Regions from separate parts of the Homo sapiens genome. Here region 2 is linked to region 1. Evidence: promoter capture Hi-C in human tissues and cell types (Jung and others, 2019). All regions are on one chromosome and are shown on one strand. Each heading gives the region's core, a stretch centred on a gene start or on the middle of the fragment in contact. The rest is flanking DNA. Distances are from core to core; before and after follow the strand shown.

What was found. The method cuts DNA at HindIII sites, captures the fragments that hold promoters and counts their contacts. A contact is called where the count stands out against the background at its distance.
Region 2: a contact is called between a fragment that was not itself captured here and the fragment with the promoter of THAP3 in region 1, in 1 of the 25 tissues and cell types used here (dorsolateral prefrontal cortex).

The regions. Positions count from the first base shown.
Region 1 is chr1:6,623,420-6,626,366 of GRCh38, reverse strand. It overlaps THAP3 (THAP domain containing 3), which reads right to left and starts at 1,499. Exons shown (of 6, transcript NM_001195753.2): 1 at 1,413-1,499; 2 at 1,075-1,217. The coding sequence starts at 1,148. It overlaps PHF13 (PHD finger protein 13), which reads right to left. Exons shown (of 4, transcript NM_153812.3): 4 at 2,337-2,947. RefSeq lists a silencer at 699-1,108. The HindIII fragment of the contact is 5,956 bases long and covers 1-2,947 here.
Region 2 is chr1:7,676,928-7,679,787 of GRCh38, reverse strand. CAMTA1 (calmodulin binding transcription activator 1) reads right to left here. Exons shown (of 23, transcript NM_015215.4): 11 at 2,055-2,189. Among named protein-coding and RNA genes, the nearest start is that of VAMP3, 93 kb to the left of the region's middle. The HindIII fragment of the contact is 4,655 bases long and covers 1-2,860 here.

The sequences.
Region 1 (2,947 bases), core at 250-2,749:
TGGGAGGGGGTCCAGGTAGGGGTTCTTCTCGGGGGTAGTGATGTTTTATTTCTTATTTTGAGATGAGGTATCGCTCTGTCACCCAGGCTGGAGTGCAGTGGCAAGATTATAGCTCACTGCAGCCTCGAAGCTGGGTTCAAGCGATCCTCCTACTTCAGTCTCCCGAGCAGCTGGGACTACAGGGGCACACCACCTTGCCTGGCTAATTTTTTTAAATTATTTGTAGAGGTAGGGTCTCCTTCTGTTGCCCAGGCAGGTCTCGAACTCCCAGGCTCAAGCGATCCTCCCGCCTCGGCCTCCCAAAGTGCTGGGATGACAGGCTTGAGCCACCGCGCCCAGCTGGTAACGTTTCAGTTCAGTGACGTTCACTTGGGGAAAACTCGCTGGGCTGTATACTTATGATTCGTGCATTTTTCTGCATGTACATTACGTATACTTCAAGCAAAGCATTTATCACAAAACAGAACAATGGGAGCAGAGGGAATGGGAACGATGAGCACAAGCCCCCCTTCGGAATGTGCCCAAAAGTGGGTAGAGAAATGGTGCCGTGACTGGACCTTGGAGAAAGCGCAACTGTGACTAATGACGATTGCTCCTGGGCCGGGCCGGGCCGGGCCGGGCGAGTGCTGGAGCAGACTCCAAAGTCTCCAGCGTCCTCCCGCGACCCTGCAGAGTCCCTTCCCACTGCCAGGACGCCCCTGGGGGTTCCACTCCTCCACTGCACTGCCCAGGTGCCGGGCTCCCTTCAGGACCGCGCGCGGCGGGGGCTGCAGCGACCAGGGACACAGCAAACCCCGGCCGCGGCCCGCTAGTCTGTTCAGCAAACACCTGCTCCGCTCCCTGCACGTCCCGGCCCTGGCCCCGCCAGGTGCGCCGCTGCCCCTCCGTCCGCCACTCCCCGCATCCCCGCGGCGGGCGCGGCGGCGCCAGCCCCTCTGGGCCCAGGACCTCGGCCTGTCCCCGGGCCCAGCGGCCGCACGCCTTTGGGCCTCCCGCCCGGCGCGCCAAGGCCTCGGAGTCGGTCCGCGGGCCCCGGGTCTGGGCCTCCCGCGCCCCCGGGTCCCCGCCTCTTACCGGTGGAAGGTGAGCTGCTTCCTGCGGCTGCTGTAGCGGTTGCAGCACTGCCGGGCCGCGCACGACTTCGGCATCTCGAGCCAGGCCTGGCTGCCCCCAACAAAGATGGCGGCGGCGGCGGGGCCTGCGGAGAGGGGAGGGACCTGCGGGGAGGGGCGGGGCCGCTGGGAGGTGGTGACGGGCCTGGCTCGCCTCCAGGGCGCGCTCATCCTGCCATCCCAGCCACCCGCGTCTCCCCAGGGTCGGACGGGACCCGGGGCGCCACGTAAAGGGGTGCTCCGGGCCCCAATTCAGGCCCGAAACCCCAACTCCTAGCCTTGGGCCTGTGCAAGTCTTACCCCATTCGCCAATGCTGGTCGCCTTTCACCTCCTTGCTTTGAGCACCCAACCAGGACGCATAGCCACTCACAGGCTTGGACAACTGGAAACCAACGGCCAACCCCTCAGTGTTTTTAGGGCTTTGAATTGTGAATAGGTCTGGACTCCTCTGACGTCACTGGAGGTGGTACTAGTTGGCCACTGGTGGTGTCAGTTCAGAGGCCAGACAGCTCACTGCCCTTAAGTTTGGTCACAGGGAACCCCCAAACGTGAAGAGGCAAAAAGGGCAACTGAAGGGGAGGGAGATTCCAGTTCAGGCCTTGCAGAAACTCCGAGGCTGCAGCTTTCTCAAAGCAGCCTATAGGGAAGGCGTCATCTTGTAAGAAGAAAAAAAAAAAAATCGGCCAGGCGCAGTGGCTCACGCCTGTAATCCCAGCACTTTGGGAGGCCGAGGCAGGCGGATCACCTGAGATCAGGAGTTCAAGGCCAGCCTGACCGACATGGTGAAACCCCATCTCTACTAAAAATACAAAAATTAGCCGCACATGGTGGCGGGCACCTGTAATTCCAGCTACTCGGAAGGCTGAAGCAGGAGAATCTCTTGAACCCGGGAGGTGGAAGTTACAATGAGCCAAAATCTCATCACAGCACTTCACAGCCTAGGTGACAAGAACGAAACTCAAGTCTCAAAAACAAAAAAAAAATCAAAAGTAGGCTAACCACTCACTGGGGCTTGAGCTAATCCTCAATCTGATGAAGAAACTGCAAAAACCATTCACATCTACTCGTCCTGTGGTTTGTTTCTAAGGAATTCACCAGCAAGGTACCTTAACACCGTGGGCATTTTCCATCCTGCTAAGTGCACACTGAGACGCTGCCTTCCCAGAGACTTGATGTAATCATGCTTTGGGGAGGTAGCAAGGAGAAAAGAAACACAATTGTCCTTCAGCACAGAACGCAATCGCCTGAACCTTGAATCATGAACCTCAAAGTAGCAATATATTTATTTACAAAATATACAGTTTCACAGAAACAGCTTCGCTTTATACACATAAACTTTAAAATTACACAGAACCATGTAAACGATGTGAAGTGTCTGGCCTGGCCAAAGCCAATGGGAGGGCCTACTTTTGGGGTGACATCCCTCCCTCCCCTCACTTCATTAGCCACCAACCAGGAACCACAGATGGGTCGTGCCTAATTTGCATATAAAGAAGCTGATTGCAGCTGCCCAGCTCAATCTAACACAAAAACCAAGGTGTCCGACTTCTTAGACACCACCCACAGGGACAGATCTGCTAAAAGAACAAAAATGCAATCAAGGAAACAAAATGGAGATGAGTATCACATGCATTCCAGAGGCATCGAACCTTCTAGCACACGTGACAGTTGCCAGGGCCGGCAGTTCCATTCTAAAGTCACATGGATTCTTAAATGCACCTTTAAAAGCTTGTGGAATTTTTTTTTTTCAAAGCAGAAAAACACTTTGGAGCGCTGGTTATTCACGTGGTGAAGACACTGGACAGGCGTTATCTCAGGGTAGATCTTTGGCAAA
Region 2 (2,860 bases), core at 215-2,714, 1.1 Mb before region 1:
CGCTCTGAGCTGGGGGTCCAAGCTGCGGAGCTACTGTTCCCCTAGCTGTGCCCTGGCTGGTGGTAACAGAGGCGATGCTGCTGGACGCCCAGGCCTTGATGTCATCGCCGCCCCAATTCCTGTCACCCTCCTGTGTATCCTGCAGGTGCAGGGGTGCTTATTTCAACTTGGAGGCCCACAGAGTTCAGAGCTCAAAGTTCTGGGGGGGGGGGCAGCTAGGGAGCAGGTGCCCAGCTTGGCGGCAGGCCCATCTCGAGGGGCCTGGGGTGGCCGAGGTCCCGGGGTGTGTCTGTCATGAAGCAGTTGGGTGGCTCCCCTTCCCCCCGGTTTCTATGGCAGCATCCTCCCGTGCCGTAGCTTCTGGGGTACAGCTGGCTCTCTGGGTTTCCAGGGGGCCTGCAGATGTGTCCTGAGCTCTGGGGCACTGCCTGACTGTGACTTTGCTCTCTGAAAAGGCTCCATCTGCCAGGCAGGGTCCTACAGTGGTCCCAGCATCCTTGGGTTCATTCTAGTGAGGCCGGCCAAGTCACTCAGGGAGAGCCAGAGCTCTGGAGAGTTCCTGACTCCATTCCCCATTTGTTCTGCAAAACTAAAACCAGATTTCCTAAACGGGAGCCCCTGGTCACCCTGCCCTTCTTTGTTACATCCTGTGGGTGGTCATCACAGCTCTGCCTGGCTCCGGCCTCAGCCAGAGATGCTGCCAAGGGCAGCTCGGTGCCCCAGGGCAGCCCATGCTAGGGTTTGAAGACCCAAAGCCACCCCAGGGAATTGTCTCCTGAGGGTTCACCAGCCAGGGCAGCTGTCGGCACCCTCTCTCTCGGCTGGGGCAGGGACTGGGATAAGGCTGAGGTTTACACACTGGGTGGTTCAGGAAATGAACTATGTACCCAAGCCCAGAAATCCTCCAGCAGCCAACAGCAAGGGGCAGTCTGAGAGGTGAGACCCAGAAGGCCAGCTGTGGGTGCGGGGTGCGTGAGGGGGTGTTGCTTGGAGAACCCACCCCTGCAAGGGGCTCAGGCTCAGCTTAGCCCAGACCTCAACATCCTGGGCTAGCAAGGTCTCCAGCAAGGTACCCCATGGAGTGTCACCTCTGTGGGCTCACCTGATACTGAGGTTATGGACAGGCATCCCTCCTACCGCATCCCCAGTGTACTGGGCTCAGCCCCCCAGGCCTTGGCTAGCTCTGGGCCTCCTGACGTGTGCCCAGGTGGGAAATGGCAGCCTCTGGCTCTGGCGTCCCCAGCCTGCCTTTGGCAGCTCTTCTCTGCAGAGCCCCTGGTACCCCAAGGGGAACCACCAACACTCACCGACCCCCATGGCCAAGGCTGGCAGCTCTTGGAGTCCCTGCCTCTCCTTGACCACCAGGTCCTGCCTGCTCCCTTGAAGCCCACTGGGGTCCCTGACACTCTACCCTCTGCCACAGTCGTGATCCTGGGCTTGCCACAGACGCCGTACAGGCCAGAGGTGGAATTAAAATCAGCCAAGAAGCTGGAGTTGAGGGTATTTGAGGGCTTCCAGGAGAAGATTTGGCTGGTTAGCCCCAAAAGGCAGAAGCAAGCCCCCAAATTCGAAAGAAGCCCAGGCCTGAGCTGCCTCCCCGTCCTCTTTCTCGAGAGGCTTGGGGCTTGGCGATGGCCTCTGGGAACCCTTTTTGCTTCCAGGAGCCCGCGGAAACAGGCCTGGAGGGGCACAGCGGGTGCTTGGACCTTGCTGCCTGGGGTCCTTCGCCAGAGCCTCTTAGCTGCCCTGGGCTTGCTTGGCCACTCAGACAGCCCAGCAGGCGTGCCAGCCACAGGCCCACACTCACATACTTTTCAGTCTGTCCCAGGGAGAGACTGAGATTGAGGGTGGGGCCAGCCAGTGTCCAGACACAAATGGCTGACAGCATAGGCACTCAGCCTGGCGGTGGAGACCCAGTCGGCCTTCCTTTGCTCACATTGGCACCACTTCCTGCCCCTTTCTGGGTGCTTACTCTTCTTTCACACCTTGTGCAAGAGTCCCCAAGCATCCCTCTCCCTTGGTGCCTGGCAAGACGACCCAAGCACTGTTCTTACCGTCCAACGACAGCCAGTCGTGCTGGGAGGAAGGGAGCGTGGGCAGAGCCCGGGCTTTGTACTCAAACACCACCGAGTTGGAGATGATCTGGTTGTTGAAGGCAACTTGTAGGGTCACAAGACCAGTGTCATGGGCTGAAAGCGAGAGAAAAAGACCAGGTCAAGGGATGGGTGGGTACCTACAGCCTGGTGAACCACACAGGGCCTGGAATGTCCCCTCCCCACTACCCTTCATTGGTTAATGTCCAGCTCTCCTTAATGGTAGCCTATGCCTGCTCATTCGAGGCCCAAACACAATGCTGCTTCTAGGAACCTTCTTGGTTCGCCCAGACTCAGCCAGCTGTCCTGTGATCACTCCCAGGTACGTAACTGCCCCTTTGCTTTGTCCTCCGAGTGAGGGCAGGAGCTGGGTGCTCAGTACAGACTGGCTGAACAAGTGAATGAGTGAATGGCCCCCATCCCTGCCTCATGGCTGGCTGACTTCCCCTCTTGTCCCATCCTTCCTGGGTGGGGCTCGGGTACAAAATTTGCTTTGGATTTATTTGCGCTTATTTTGTTTCACCTATTCCTACAAGCTTGTCCTGACTCGATGAACAGCCAGCCATCCCTTGTATTTTTAGTTCTTCTGCTTCCCCGATGAAGGAGCTTCAGATGTGCCTCTGTTACCCTGGCCCCAGCTCAGCCCCAGTGGGTGTTGAGCTGGGGATGCTGATGTGAAGGTTGCACCTCCCTCCAGTGGCCCGACAGTAAGCTCTGGAAGACAGGGCCCTGGCAGGTCTCGTTAACTGCTGTGGCCCCAACACAGG